Regions from separate parts of the Homo sapiens genome. Here region 2 is linked to region 1. The links are contacts of gene promoters, found by promoter capture Hi-C in human tissues and cell types (Jung and others, 2019). All regions are on one chromosome and are shown on one strand. Each heading gives the region's core, a stretch centred on a gene start or on the middle of the fragment in contact. The rest is flanking DNA. Distances are from core to core; before and after follow the strand shown. Region 1 holds the start of ZNF446 (zinc finger protein 446). Region 2 overlaps LOC124904784 (a long non-coding RNA gene).

Evidence for each region. Contacts are between HindIII fragments. The study calls those that stand out against the background at their distance.
Region 2: a fragment that was not itself captured here is called in contact with the fragment with the promoter of ZNF446 in region 1 in 1 of the 25 tissues and cell types used here (spleen).

The regions. Positions count from the first base shown.
Region 1 is chr19:58,475,098-58,482,976 of GRCh38, forward strand. It overlaps ZNF446 (zinc finger protein 446), which reads left to right and starts at 1,255. Exons shown (of 7, transcript NM_017908.4): 1 at 1,255-1,407; 2 at 2,082-2,463; 3 at 2,540-2,729; 4 at 2,990-3,084; 5 at 4,546-4,630; 6 at 4,833-4,922; 7 at 5,079-6,133. The coding sequence starts at 2,122. The coding sequence ends at 5,629. ZNF324 (zinc finger protein 324) reads left to right here. Exons shown (of 4, transcript NM_014347.3): 4 at 1-339. It overlaps LOC112268251 (a long non-coding RNA gene), which reads right to left. Exons shown (of 3, transcript XR_007067366.1): 2 at 6,318-7,349; 3 at 6,000-6,090. RefSeq lists enhancers at 344-433, 494-553, 794-1,043, 865-1,159, 1,314-1,513. The HindIII fragment of the contact is 17,703 bases long and covers 1-7,879 here.
Region 2 is chr19:58,160,542-58,168,420 of GRCh38, forward strand. All of the region lies in intron 1 of LOC124904784 (a long non-coding RNA gene), which reads left to right. Among named protein-coding and RNA genes, the nearest start is that of ZNF329, 14 kb to the left of the region's middle. The HindIII fragment of the contact is 6,997 bases long and covers 1,494-7,879 here.

The DNA.
Region 1 (7,879 bases), core at 5-2,504:
GCACCTCATCCCCAAAAACAACCTGAGGAGGCCGTTGGAAAGCTCCGAGTTGACAAGTCTCATCCACGCACATGCTCGGTGCTTCCAATCGGTGATCAAGACCACTGCTCTTCATCCAGAGCAGGCAGCAGGGATTCCCAGGTATCCAAAGAAACCAAAACAGGCGGTGTAATTTAGGACTGACTAAGTAATGGCTCGGCCACTTTTAAGTGTGGAAGCAAAACTGACCCCACAGATTTAGAAAACTGTAACACTGCTTATTGGGAGAAACTAGTGTCACCCTGGCTAGTTCTGCTCCCCAAATTCAAAGGTAAATAAACGGTTGAGCATGTCCGATCAGCCTGGAGGGAAACCTCCACCCCCGACTTTGTAGGACTGACATCTGAAGACGTCAGAGACTGCGGTCACAACCGTCGGTACCTCCTTAGGGCGCTTAACAGAGGTCAAAGATGGCCCTCGCACCCTCCTGGCGGGAGAAAGCCCAGGCTCAGGGTGGTCTTCTACACCACCGCCTCTCCCGGGTCCACTTGGAAGCGAGTCCCAGCGAACTACTCGACCTAGGAAACCACTGGGCCGCCACTTCCAGCCTCTTCGGAAGTCGAGGCAACGCTCCTGAACGTTGCCACGGGAACAGCTGGAGGCGGGCGGATATGCCCTAGCGTTATCTAGGGGCTGGCCCGGGGAATGGCGTGGGGGCGGCGGGGCCAAGCAAGCGCCACCTCTGATTGGGCAAAACCCCCTCCCCTCACCTGCCAATAGAAACCGGCCCACTGTACAGACGCGCAAGTTTATAACCCGGGAAGAGCTGCTCTCAGAGCGGAGGGAGACCATATAACCCTGGGACTCTGCCGTACCTCCTAGAGGAACAGAGCGCCTCTCAGGCGTCAGAGGCTGCTGCAAATGCGGGTCAGCGGGTCACGGTCGCGCCTGTCTTGCTGATGCTCATGGGAAATGTAGTTCAAAGGGCATGGGCGGTGCCTTCGGTGCAGGCGAGAGATTGGTCAGCGCGGCGTCGCCGGGGCAACACCCGGCTGAGGCGCCCCGCGTTGTGCGGCGCCACATCCGGGAAGCGGCCTCCAAGCAACCGCTCCGGGTTGAGGTGAGCGCAGGCTGCCAGAGTGGGCGCAGCCTTTCCACCCCGTGGGAGGGCTTGGGGTCGCCCTCTGGGGCCTGAACGGCTCCTGCTGTCGGCGCCCTGGAGGGCCCGCCCACTTCCCGACAGGCCGCGCGCGTCACCTCAGCCTTCGCTCAGGCCTTTCCTACCCTCAACGCCGTTCCGGGGGGCCGGGCCTGGCAAGTCCTCTTGGAACGCCTCCCTCTTGCCTTCCCCTTTTGGGGACAGATCCCGAAGTTCGAGCATCCCTCGGATAGGCCGGGTGTCAGGCCTGGTCTCTCAGGCCCGTCCAGGTGGGCGTCTTTCACTGCAGACCTTCAGGGCCGGGATGCTGTGGCCATCCCTCGACTCCGCGCAACGTGGAGCTTTGGCCCCGTTTTTCTTGGCCTTTGCTTTTCGTTTTCACATGCACGGGCCCCGGCAGTGTGAGTCGCCCACGGCTCGCTGTGGTCAGCGAGCACGATGTCCACGTGCCCCCTCCCCAGAGCCATTCCTAAAGGAGGTCCCACCCAGTCAACCTCCCCGAGATTGTGGAGGGCGACTCGTCCCCGTACATTACAGCCTGGCCCCACCTTCTACCCGCCCACCCTGGTCCACTCTCCTCGCACCTCGGCTAGACACTGTGGCTCCTCAGCCTGGCGCTGGAACTCTGTGATGACTGTCTTTCTCCACCTCTTTAGCGTCATCTCCCAGCAGTCCCCTGCTGGACCCAACTGTTTGCAATTTCCAGGAAGCTCCCTGGACACCTTGCGTCCAAGCATTTGTCCCTGAGGCTTCCTCCTGCTCTCATTTGCCATCATTGTTTGGGTCCTGTGACCCTCCTCCTTCCATGAAGCTTTCTTGGCCTTATCTCTTCTGGCCTCAGAGTACACTTGGTCCTGGTCTCAGCCCCCTGGGCTGAGCCTGGTGTCTGCCTTCCCCTGGCCAGATTCTCTTGGCTGACATTCCGACCCTTCCTTTTCTGTAGGCCCATCTTGACGATTCCAAGACCACCCCCTTGAGCAAGAATGCCATCCCCTCTGGGTCCCCCATGCCTGCCCGTCATGGACCCAGAGACCACCCTTGAGGAGCCTGAGACTGCCCGCCTCCGCTTCCGAGGGTTCTGCTACCAGGAGGTGGCAGGTCCCCGAGAAGCCCTGGCCCGGCTGCGTGAGCTGTGTTGCCAGTGGCTGCAGCCTGAGGCACACTCCAAGGAGCAGATGCTGGAGATGCTGGTGCTGGAGCAGTTCCTGGGCACACTGCCTCCCGAGATCCAGGCCTGGGTGCGCGGTCAGCGGCCAGGCAGTCCTGAGGAGGCCGCTGCCCTAGTCGAAGGACTGCAGCATGACCCTGGGCAACTGTTGGGCTGGGTGAGTGTGGCTGGCATCAGCTTCTTGGAGGGATAGACCCTGGCTAGAGCCATTGTGACCTACCTCTTCTCCTCAGATCACAGCCCATGTCCTGAAGCAGGAGGTGCTCCCTGCAGCCCAGAAGACAGAGGAACCACTTGGGAGCCCCCACCCCTCAGGGACAGTGGAGTCCCCTGGGGAAGGTCCCCAGGACACCAGAATAGAGGGGTCTGTCCAGCTCAGCTGCAGTGTGAAGGAGGAGCCCAATGTCGATGGACAGGAAGTGGGTGAGGTTGGGGTCCCACCAGAGATGAGGGACTCCTGGAGGAAGTGTGGACATTCCTGGCTAGGGTGGGAGTCCCAGGAGAGGTGTGTCAAGGCTGGGACTCCTGAAGTGAATGTGGATGTCCCTGTCTGGGATGGGGACCTGGGAGGCAGGAGCCAAGGGCTGGCTACGTGCCATGTCACACAGCAGAGGAGCTCCTCATCTGCCATGGCTCATGTGGGCAGCCCCTGACACCACCCTTCCATCTGCCCCACTTTTCAGCACCCTCCAGCCCTCCACTTGCAGCACAGTCCCCTGAGGGGAACCATGGACACCAAGAACCAGCCTCCACATCCTTCCACCCACCCAGGATTCAGGTGAGCAGCCCCAAGTGGGAAGTATAGGCCCCAGGTGTGAGAAGGGACTGTCCCCATGGCTGCCCTCTGCCTGGTGGTTTTCCAGGCTCCTTGACTAGTGGCTCTTTGCTTCCCAGAAGTGGAGTCTGTAAAAGCTGTACCCCTCCACAGGACCTGGGGCAGAGGGACAGACTGGTGATCTATTATTGAAAAGGATTTGGGGCTGGACATGGTGGCTTACACCTGTAATCCTAGCACTTTGGGAGGCTGAGGTGAGCGGATCACCTGAGGTCAGGAGCTCGAGACCAGCCTGACCAATGTGGTGAAACCCTGTATCTACTAAAGATACAAAAATTAGCCAGAAGTGGTGGCAGGCGCCTGTAATCCCAGCTACTAGGGAGGGTGAGGCAGGACAATTGCTTGAACCCAGGAGGCAGAGGATGCAGTGAGCCGAGATTGTGCCACTGCGCTCCAGCCTGGTCAACAAGAGCAAAATTGTGTGTCAAAAACAAAAAAAAAAAAAAGGATTTGGGCCTCAAGCCATGGAAACCCAGTTTAGAGTGGCTGGAACTAGTGGGCTTGGCTTCCTCACCTCCAGAGAAGTCAGCTGGGAGGTTTGCTGCTCCCAGAGGTCCTGAGCCAGACCTGGGGATTTGAACTTTTGTGTGTAGCTGGGGAGGGGAGAAGATGACCAGCTGTGGCAGGACTCCCCCCACACCTGAGACCAGATGGAGACACTCTCCCTGGGAAATGCCCGAAGTCCCTTCTCTCCTAGGGGTTTCTTCAGAGGCCACCTGTTAGGCCTGGAAGCTCAGCTTGAGGCCTCTTCTACCTGGATCGCTTGGTTCCCAAGTGTGGGTAGCAAGGTCTTTTCCTCTCCCGGCTCCTCTAACAACTCCACTGGGGAGCTTCAGCAGCAACATTGCTGGTTGAGATGTGTTTCGAGGCTAAGAAGTCCTTCCAGGCTCCCTCCACAGCCCCATGGCACAGTCAGAAAGTGAGGCAGGGTGGGTAGGCTGCACTTCCCAGTGTCCTCACCTCCAGCCAGCACCATCTCTAGCTGTGGCTCCTCACAGCTGCCGCCTTCCTGCCCCTGGACTTGCCACAGCTTGTCCCTCAGGATTATTTTTCCCAACCCAGCAAAGCCCCAGATGATGGGACTCAGGCAGCAAGGAGGGCTGACCCCCAATCAGGGAGTTCATTCCTCGATAAAGTCACTCAGGTCCCTGTGATGCTGCCAAACCTGCCCTCTGAGCAGGATGGTGTAGTAGAGGGGGATGAGTGCTGGCAGCAGCACTGGTCAGGTGATCTGAAGGAGAACCTCTGCACTTAACAAACACACACCTTGAGATCATTCTCAGCAGGAGGGGCAGATGAGGCGTAGGTAACCTGCTGACTCTTCCGGGTAATAGGTAAGAATGTGAACCAGACAGGGCAGGGAAGGGGTGGAAAGACGCCTACAGTGATGGGCCACATCCGCAGGAGGAGTGGGGGCTGCTGGACCGGTCACAGAAGGAACTGTACTGGGATGCGATGCTGGAGAAGTACGGCACAGTGGTCTCCCTGGGTGAGGACCAGCCAGCCCCACCCCGCCCCTCTCCCTGGGGCCTGCACCCACCCTGCAGCAGGCCTAGCTGGGCAGGGCCTCTGTGCTACCAGCCCTACCCAGCTCTCCCACCTTCCAGAGGAACACCCTGTCACCTACCAGAACCGACCCCACCCCTCCTTCATGCAAACCCCATGCCTAACTGTGCCCCCCACCCGGGCAGGGTTACCGCCCCACCAGCCAGAGGCACAGGCCCAGTCAGAGCTGGGGATGCTGCTCACGGGGACAGGCGTCTGCAGAAGCCTGCGCTCGGGTGAGTGCCCCACACCATCCAGCCTGAATCACCCCTCCTGTATCGGTGGGACCTGAGCCACCCACTCATGGGGGGACGGGAGCTTGTGCCACGGCCACAAGCCTGAGGGAGGGGTTGCTGAGTGCCGGGACTCACCTGGTTTGCCCCTGCCCCCAGGAAATGAGAGTGAGGGTCCACCTGGCTGCCCAGAGGCCCAGCCGCCCCAGGGCCCAGGGCCGGCAGCCTGGGAGGGCTTGTCTGGGGCTGCCACTCCTGCCCCCACTGTGCGCCCAGGGACACCGCCAGTGCCCACTCAGCCCACACCTGCAGAGACGAGACTGGAGCCGGCTGCCACCCCCAGGAAGCCCTACACGTGCGAGCAGTGTGGCCGCGGCTTCGACTGGAAGTCAGTGTTCGTCATCCACCACCGGACACACACGAGTGGGCCAGGTGTGCAGTCCCCGGGGCTAGCCACCGGGGAAAGCACAGAGAAGCCACCACAAGGGGAGGTGGCCTTTCCGCACCACCCCCGACGCTCACTCACAGGCCCCCGGAGTTACCCGTGTGAGGAGTGCGGGTGCAGCTTCAGCTGGAAGTCGCAGCTGGTCATCCACCGCAAGAGCCACACAGGCCAGCGGCGTCACTTCTGCAGTGACTGTGGCCGCGCCTTCGACTGGAAGTCGCAGCTGGTCATCCACCGCAAGGGCCACCGGCCGGAGGTTCCATGAGCAGCCAGACAGCACAGTCCCTCGGGGCCTCGGTGTTCTCGGGGCCTGGATACAGCCTCTGGGGCACCAGCAGAAGACTCTGGAGGCAGCAGGGGATGCCAGAGTGAACAAGGGGTCCCAAGCCAGTTCCCTGCCCCTGGTCTGGTCTCCCCCAAAAGACCTGGGTGCAAGGAAAAGGAGCTGCTCTCTCTCTTCTTGCCCCTGCCTCCTAGAGGGAGGTCTGGGTTCCCTTCTATGGCTGACCAGTGCCTGTGGGGTGACTGCCAAGCACCAGGCTCCCTCCCTCCCTGTGACATGGCCTGGGCTGACAACACTCCCTCTCCTGGGACCTCCTTGCCTCAGGTGGGTGTTCAAAAACTGTGCCTTCCCACTCGTCTGTGCAGAGGCTGGGCCTGAGGTCTCAGTGTGGAGAGCAGCAGAAGACCCAGGAAAGCACAGTTGGCTTCCGTTTCTCCTGCTCCCTGTGTGTGTTAGAATTTTAACATAAATTCCACTTTCATAATATGGAGTTTCTGAATAAGAATCCTGATTTCTGGCTTCTGCTGGTCGGGAAATAGGCAGTTTGCTGTCTCTGCCCAGTAGCTGCAGCACAGGGCAGTTGAGCCCAGAACGGCCAAACCTCTGTTGCCACAGAACCCAGGTCCCAGGTCCCCAGCCTCCCTTGCTCCTTGCCGCCCACATCACTCACCAGCCTCACTGGCCTTGGAACTCATCAGTCCCGGCTTGAGAGACACAAAGGGGATTTCCTTTCGAAGTACGGCTGGACAAGGGGGACCTCTGAGAAGAGGGGCTGCAAGCAGGGGTTGCGCCAAGGCCATGGGTACTTCTAGGTCAGGCCGCACCCTCCATAGTTAGCTGGTCATGCAGCAGGAAGGCAAAAGGTCAGCTCCCTGGGAAGCACCGGATCTCTGGGCAGTCACTGGGGACTCGCCAATGCACTGTATTAGTTTTCTGTTGCTGCTTTAACAAACTTGGCAGCTTGAAACAACAGATTCTCTTATAGCTCTGAAGGTCAGAACTCTGACATGGGTCCCACTGGGCTAAAATCAAGGTTTTGTTTTGTTTTGTTTTGTTTTGTTTTGTCTGAGATGGAGTCTCGCTCAGTTGCCCAGGCTGCAGTGCGGTGGCACAATCTCGGCTCACTGCAAGCTCTGCCTCCCGGGTTCACGCCATTCTCCTGCCTCAACCTCCTGAGTAGCTGGGACTACAGACACCCGCCACCACGCCCGGCTAATTTTTTTGCATTTTTAGTAGAGACGGGGTTTCACCGTGTTAGCCAGGATGGTCTCGATCTCCTGACCTCGTGATCCACCCACCTCGGCCTCCCAAAGTGCTGGGATTACAGGCGTGAGCCACCGCGCCCGGCCAAAATCAAGGTTTTAACAGGACTGGTTCCTCTTGAAGGCTCTAGGAGAGAATAATCCATTTTGTTGCCTTTTCCAGCTTCTAGAGTCAGCCCACGTTCCCCCTTTTTTTTTTCTTGGTCCATTCCTCCGTCTTCAAAGCCAGCCATGGTTGGTCACGTCTTCCTTAGGCTGCCAGCTCTCTGACACCCATCGATCCTTTGGCCTCCTTAAGGACCCTCATCATATCTTGTCCCCTACCTGCACACTTAGTCACACCGCAGAGTCCCTTTTGCCAATTGAGATGTTCACAGCTTCTGGGGATTGGAATGGGGACTCCTTGGGGGCCTTGATTCAGCACTCTTCTCCTTCCTACTCTGAAAACAAGGGGCATTTTCACAGGGGATGGTTTCAGGAAATGGGTGCCCTCTCGGAAGGAGCCCTCGCCAGCTGCTGGTATGTGCAGCATGTGCACAAGTCGCAGGTGGATGTTGAGGGTAGCTGCGACTGTGGTTACCCCAGGAGGGGCTCCCTGGGAGGGGCAGGAACCCTGCTGCGGCCTGAAGCTGGGAGAGGGAGGCTCTCCTCAGAGGCCCATCTTCCCCATCCCCTTTTATGAGGGCCTTCTAACCCGTTGCTCCCATGTGCAGGGCTCCGGAAGCAGGGCCAGTTTGGAGATGGAGCTGGGGGTGGGTGATCTGTGAGCAAGCAGGAGGCGAGAGCTGTGCTGGGGACAGAGAAGAAGAAGACAGAGCAGTACCCAGGGGCTCCAGCTAGGCCCCAGCCCAGAAGGGAGAGTCAGGGTATAGAAGGCTGTGAAAGGGCCAGATCATGCAAGAAAAGCTGCAGGGGGTGAGGGCAGTTTTTAAATAAACTTTTTCACATTTAGAAGCAATTTATGCTCACT
Region 2 (7,879 bases), core at 3,742-6,241, 310 kb before region 1:
CTTTCGGAGGCCGAGGCAGGCAGATCACGAGGTCAGGAGATTGAGACCATCCTGGCTAACATAGTGAAACCCCATCTCTACTAAAAATACAAAAAATTAGCCGGGCGTGGTGACAGGCGCCTGTGGTCCCAGCTACTCAGAGGCTGAGGCAGGAGAATGGCGTGAACCCGGGAGGCGGAGCTTGCAGTGAGCCGAGATCACGCCACTGCACTCCAGCCTGGGCGACAGAGCGAGACTCCGTCTCAAAAACAAAAACAAAAACAAAAACAAAAAACAAAAACATAGCAGCTTACAACAAGGGAAGACAACTTTTTCTGTAAAGGACCAGACAGTAAATATTTTAGGTTTGGGGGACTATATGGTCTCTGTTGCAACTGTCAACCTTGTTGTAGCACAACAGCAGCTATTGACTATACATAATACATGGGCAGAGCTGTATTTCAGTAAAACCTATGGACAGTTGAGTGTGGTGGCTCACACCTGTAATCCCAACACTTTTGGGGGCCAAGGTGGGAGGATCACTTAAACCCAGGAGTTCAAGACCAGCCTGAGCAACAAAGTGACACCCCATCCCTACAAAAATAAAAATAAAAAAACTTTATGGGCCAGGCGCGGTGGCTCACGTCTGTAATCCTAGCACTTTGGGAGGCCAAGGTGGGCGGATCACGAGGTCAGGAGATTGAGACCATCCCGGCTAACACGGTGAAACCCTGTCTCTACTAAAAATACAAAAAATTAGCCAGGCGTGGTGGTGGGCGCCTGTAGTCCCAGCTACTCGGGAAGCTGAGGCAGGAGAATGGAGTGAACCCAGGAGGTGGAGGTTGCAGTGAGCTGAGATCGTGCCACTGCACTCCAGCCTGGGTGACAGAGTGAGACTCCGTCTCAAACAAACAAACAAACAAACAAAAAACTTCATGGACACTGAAATTTGAATTTCATATAATTTTCACATCACAAAATATAATTATTCCTTTATTTTCAATTATTAAAAGATGTAAAAACTACAATTAATTGATCACAACCAGTTACAGATTTCTTTGTTCTTCTCCACTCCCACTGCTTCGTTTGACCAGCCAAAACAACAAAAAAAAGAATTTTAAAAAATATAAAAACTACTCTTAGTTCATAAGCCATCCCCTCCCCAAAAAGGCAACAGACGGGACCAGACCTGGAAACTATAGTTTGCTGACTCCTAGCAGTAACAAATTACCACAGATTTAGTGGCTTAAAACAAAATAAAGTTATTATCTTATAGTTCTGGAGGTCAGAAATCCAAAATGGGTTGGCTTTCCTTTGGGAGGCATGAGTGGAGAATACATGCCTTCCATTTTCCAGCTTCTAAAGGACACTTACATTGCTAGGTCTATGGCCCTGAGTCACTCCAACCTCTGCTTCCATCATCAAAACTCGTTTTCTGATTCTGACTCTTCTATCTTCCTCTTCCACATTTAAGTATCCTTGTGAATACACTGGGCCCACTCAGATAATCCAGGATAATCTCTGTATCTCAAGATTCCTAATTTATTCACATCTGTAAAAATTCTTTTGCCATGTGAAGTAACATTCACGAGGTTCTAGGGATGAGGATGTGGACATCTTTTGGAAACCATTACTGAGCTCACTACACAGTCCAAGAAGGCCTCTCTGAGGAGGTCAATGTTAATCTGACTTCTCAAGTAAAAGAAGGAGCCAACATACTGAGGAAGAGCATTTTGGTAGAAGGAGAGCACTAGCAAAGGCTCTGAGGTGGAGAGAATTTGGTACAATCAAGAAACCAGCCAGGCACAGTGAGTGGCTCATGCCTGTAATCCCAGCACTTTGGGAGGTCGAGGCCGACGGATCACTTGAGGTCAGGAGTTTGAGACCCGCCTGGCCAGTATGGTGAAACCCATCTCTACTAAAAATACAAAAATTAGCTGGGCATGGTGGCGCGTGCCTGTAATCCCAGCCACCTGGGAGGCTGAGGCACGAGAATTGCTTGACCCCAGGAGGTGGAGGTTGCAGTGAGCCAAGATCACGCCATTGCACTCCAGCCTGGGTGACAGCGAGACTCGTTCCCCAAGGAAAAAAAAAAAACAATAGCAGGCAGTGAAGACAGAATGGATGGGCAAGGGGAGAGAGCAGAAGAGTCAGGGGAAATCTGGCTGACATGTGCCAGGCCTTGTGCACCTTGATTAGGAGTTTGGGCTTCACCCTGAAGGAGACAGGAAACCAGAAGGGGTGGAGTTAACCTCGGGAGTGACATGATCTAATTTGCACCATTAGAAGGGCACTGCCTGATGTGTGGGGGAAGATCTCCAGCAGGCATTTAGTCACAGGCTTTGGAAATTCAGAAGCTGAGGGTTAGTGATCTCGACTTGGAAGTCATCAACATAACAGTCGAATGGTGAGGGATACAAGTCACCTCAAACAATTGGCCAAGAAACAGTCACGGTGATGCCATGCTAGGTACTGTTGCCAAGGAAATTAGCAAACAGATTTGGAATCTGCCTTTATGTAGCAATCAGCATAGTGAATGTGGATGTTCTACAAAAAAGCATAAATATTTGAGAGCAATGAGAAGTCACTCGTTGAATTTAAGCAAGAGAATTAAATGATCTAGTTTACATTTTAAGAGAGACAGGGTCGGGAGAGGGGGGAGGGATAGCATTAGGAGATATACCTAATGTTAAATGACAAGTTAATGGGTGCAGCACACCAACGTGGCACATGTGTACATATGTAACTAACCTGCACGTTGTGCACATGTACCCTAAAACTTAAAGTATATATAAATAAAAATAATAAAAAAAATAAATAAATAAATAAAAGAGACAGGGTCTTGCTGTGTCACCCAGGCTGGTGTGCAGTGGTGCAATCATAGCTTGCTGCAACCTTGGAATCCTGGGCTCAAGAAATCCCCCCACCTCAGCCTTCCAAGTAGCCGAAATCATAAGTGCACACCACCACACCCGGCTAATTAAAAAAAAACTTTTTTTGTAGAGACGGGGGTCTCACTGTGTTGTCCAGGCTGGTCTCGAACTTCTGAACTCAAGTGATCTTCCTGCCTTGGCCTCCCAAAGTGCTGGTATTACAAGGGTGAGCCACCACACCTGGCCTGATTTCCATGTTTGAACGGTTGCACTGGTTGAGTGTTGGGATGGTGTCATGAACAGAAGAGGAGATGATGATGAAAGCACTACTGTGTAGTTCAGTCAAGAAGTGTCATGACTTGGAACCGGATGAGTCAATGGAAGTAAAAAGGGGATCATTTCAATGTATGTTTAAGGTGGGCTCAGAATTTGGTGATTGATTCAAAATGGAAGTGGAAGGGTCCATGGCTACTGGCATGAGCAACTGTGATGCAATCCATGGACAGGAGAAACCTGGGAGAAGAGGAGGTAGAGCATGAGAGTAGAACTCAGTACTGACAAGGTATGGTTGTAAAATGAATAGACACTCCCAGCAGGCAGTATGAATATGGTGAAATATGTCCATGCTCAGAAAAGAATCTGGAATGAAGCTACAAATTGTGATTCATCAATGTTCAGATGGTGTTTGAAGCCAGCAGAATAAAACAGACCATACTGGTGGATGAGAGAAGAGGGCTCAGGACAAGCCCCCAAAGCACTGGGGTCCAGAAGAGCATCTTGAAAACAGCGTGAGGAGACTGGGCGCGGTGGCTCACGCCTGTAATCCCAGCACTTTGGGACGCTGAGGCTGGTGGATCACGAGGTTGGGAGATCGAGACCATCCTGGCTAACATGGTGAAATCCCGTCTCTACTAAAAATACAAAAAATTAGCTGGGCATGGTGGCGGGCGCCTGTAGTCCCAGCTACTCAGGAGGCTGAGGCAGGAGAATGGCGTGAACCCAGGAGGCAGAGCTTGCAGTGAGCCAAGATCGTGCCACTGCACTCCAGCCTGGGCGACAGAGCGAGACTCCGTCTCAAAAGAAAAAAAAAAAAAAAGAAAGAAAGAAAAAGAAAAGAGAGTGAGAAATGACTACTAGCAGAGATTGATCTATTTTCCTATCAGCCACCTGGAGAGACTGGGCTTATTCTTATTTGCTCAGTCGCTCCTGGCAAGACAGATTTGGAAACAAATCAACATGCTTTCGATGTGCTTAATACCAGCATTTTCTCTCCAGCTCTTAAAATTATGGTTTTTTAATTGATTGAACAAGCCATAATTTATTCAGTGAACAACTGTAGGGGATGTACAAATGTATCTGGTTTTTTTTTTTTTTTGGATTGTGAAACTATCATCAAAAGCAAAGAGATAACCAGGAAGGAAGACATTTGTCTGAAAACCATATGCCAGGCCAGGCGTGGTGGCTCATGCCTGAAATCCGAGCACTTTGGGAGACTGAGGTGGGTGGATCACAAGGTCAGGAGTTTGAGACCAGCTTGGCCAACACGGTGAAACCCCGTCTCTACTAAAAAAAAAATACAAAAATTGGCTGGGCATGGTGGCGTGTACCTGTAATCCCAGCTACCTGGGAGGCTAAGGCAGGAGAATTGTTTGAACCCAGGAGGCAGAGGTTGCAGTAAGCCGAGACTGCGCCACTGCCCTCCAGCCTGGGTGACAGAGGACGACTCCGTCTCAAAACAAAACAAAACAAAATAAAAACAACAACAACAAAAATGCCATCCTGAAAGTGGAAAGATTCACAAAGAATGAGCTTCATTTCTTCACATTTGGAAGAAACCAGGACTGTAAGGTCCACTTAGAGAAGCAGAAGGAGGACCAGGAGAGATGAGTCAAACAAATGATGCTTGAGGAACACTGATTCAGGAATGAGGTTGCAAGAATAAGAAATGCACAGCTAATGTTAAGTAGAATTCAAGCCTTCTTCCACTAAACAATATTCTTTTTTGTTTTGTTTTGTTTTGTTTTTGAGACAGAGTCTTGCTCTGTCACCCAGGCTGGAGTGCAGTGGCAGGATCTCAGGTCACTGCGAGCTCTGCCTCCCGGGTTCATGCCATTCTCCTGCCTCAGCTTCCAGAGTAGCTGGGACTACAAGCGCGCGCCACCACACCCAGCTAATTTTTTGTATTTTTAGTAGAGACGGGGTTTCACCGTGTTAGTCAGGATGGTCTCGATCTCCTGACCTCATGATCCACCCTCCTTGGCCTCCCAAAGTGCTGCCATTACAGGCATGAGCCACCGCGCCTGGCCTTGTTTTTGTTTTTTGAGACAGAGTCTCATTCTGTCACCCAGGCTGGAGTGCAATGGCATGATCTTGGCTCACTGCGACCTTCACCTCCTGGGTTCAAGCAATTCTCTGCCTCGGCCTCTCAAGTAGCTGGGATTCAGGCACCCGCCACCACACCTGGCTAATTTTTGTATTTTTAGTAGAGACAGGGGTGTCGCCATCTTGGCCAGGCTGGTCTTGAACTCCTGACCTTGTGATCCACCCACGTTGGCCTCTCAAAATGTTGGGACTACAGGCGTGAGCCACCGTGCCTGGCCCACTAAACAATATTCTTATCAATGAATACCACTACATACATGACTCATTGTAAAACAACATTCAGATTTAATAAACCATAAATGCACAGGGAAAAACCCCTGAAAATTATGATTTTGGGAATGCTTTTGGTCAAAACACTCAACTTCTTAGACTTGCAAACAGTTCAGTGTAGAAAAGCCTTATATATGAAATATACGTAGTAAATTTTTTAAGTGTAGCACAAGTCTCAGTCAATGTAAGCGAATTCATGTTAGAGAGAGTTGAGTTGAATGTAAGGAATGTGGAAAAGTGTATTCAGAGCTCCTCTCATCTTTGTTTTGAGAGCACTCACACAGTTGACAAACCCTCCAGATGTTCTGAATGTGAGAAATCCCTGTTTATGGTAAATACTTTCTGACATCAGAGAAGTCATACTGGAGAGAGACCATATAAATGTAGTATGTGTAAAGAAGTCTTTAAACAGAGCTCAACCCCACTGATGTATGAGCAAACTCTCTCAGGAAATAGACCTTACAAATGTGTTGAGTGTTGGAGAGTCTTTATTAAGAAATATTTCTTTCAGTATGTTTCAGAACTTATACAGGAGAACAATACTATAAATGTAATCGCTGTAGCAAAGGCTGTAGACACAAATTATACCTTATTCAATATGAGACAATTTATACTTGTGGGAAATTATATATTTGCAGTGAATTTAGGAAATTCTTCTAAAGAAGTGAACACTTTTACCCTATAGCTAAGAATCTATAGAGACACCTTATGAAGGGAATCATTCAGGGAAAGGTTTTACACTTTGCTCCTCCACTACTCAAAAATCACAGAAGACACACTGGAGAGCAAAGTGATGGATACAGTCATCGTGGGAAAGGCTTCAGACGTAGCCTAGCCCTTATGATGTGACATCAGAGGACTCATACTGAGGAAAACCCCATACATGTAATTTGCGTGGAAGAGCATTCAGGAGTTGTTCTCATATTATTGAACGTAAGAGGACTCATACTGGAGAACACTATGAATGCAGTCAGTATTGGCAAGCTTTCAACCATGGCTTTTACCTTATTTGACACCAGGAAATTCAAACAAATTAGAAAAACTCATTGAAAAAAGATCAATGTGGAAAAGCTATTGGTTGGAATTCCATTTTATTTGACATCAGGGATAAAGGAGGCAAAAGCCACCAGTTATTTTTTAACTCTTAAGTATCTGAATGTAACAAGACTGCAAACTTGTGACTCCCTGCAGCCACAGATCAGCAGGGATAAGCAGTTCTATTCTACATATGTCCCTAATTTGCCATAGAAACACCATTTAATGGGGACTCAGGGTCTAGGCCTGATGAACAATGTCTCATAGAAATGTCTGGCCATATGCGGCTGGGCACAGTGGCTCACGCCTGTAATCCCAGCACTTTGGGAGTCCGAGGCGGGTGGATCACGAGGTCAGGAGATCAAGACCATCCTGGCTAGCACCGTGAAACCCCGTCTCTACTAAAAATACAAAAAAAAAAAATTAGCTGGGTGTGGTGGTGGGCGCCTGGAGTCCCAGCTACTCAGGAGGCTGAGGCAGGAGAATGGTGTGAACCCAGGAGGCAGAGCTTGCTGTAAGCCGAGATCGTGCCACTGCACTCCAGCCTGGGTGACAGAGCAAGACTCCGTCTCAAAAAAAACAAGAAAAAAAGAAAAAGAAAAAGAAATGTCTCCCATATGCCTGTAATCCCAGCTACACAGGAGGCTGAGGCAGGAGAATAGCTGAACCCAGGAGGTGGAGGTTGCAGTGAACCAAGATCACACCACTGCCCTCCAGCCCGGGCAACAGAGCAAAACTCCATCTCAAAAAAAAAAAAAAAAATGGTTGCCATAGATAATCATGGCTGGGCACAGAGGCTCACACCTGTAATCCCAGCACTTTTGGAGGGCAAGGCAGGTGGATCACTTGAGCTCAGGAGTCCAAGACCAGCCTGTGCAACATGGAGAAACCCCGTCTCTAATAAAAATACAAAAATTAGCTGTGCGTGGTGGTGCATTCCTGTAGTCCCAGCTACTTGGGAAGTGAGGACTGCTTGAGGGGGTCAAGGCTACAGTGAGCTGAGATGGTACCACTGCACTCCAGCCTGGGTGACTAAACGAGACCCTGTCTAAAAGAAAAGAAAAGAAGAGAAATGGTTGTCATAGGTAATCACATGTAAATTTTTTTTTTTTTAAAGAGTGAGCAACAGTAAGATTTATTGCAAAGAGCGAAAGAACAAAGCTTCCACAGTGTGGAAGGGGACCCAAGCGGGTTGCCCATAAATGTTATCAGTGGCAACAGCGTATCTGTTTTTCTACATCACGTATGAATAAAAGAACCGTCAACCTTGAAGAATGGTGCAGGAATCATATGGCAACAGCGTATCTATTTTTCTACATCACGTATGAATAAAAGAACCG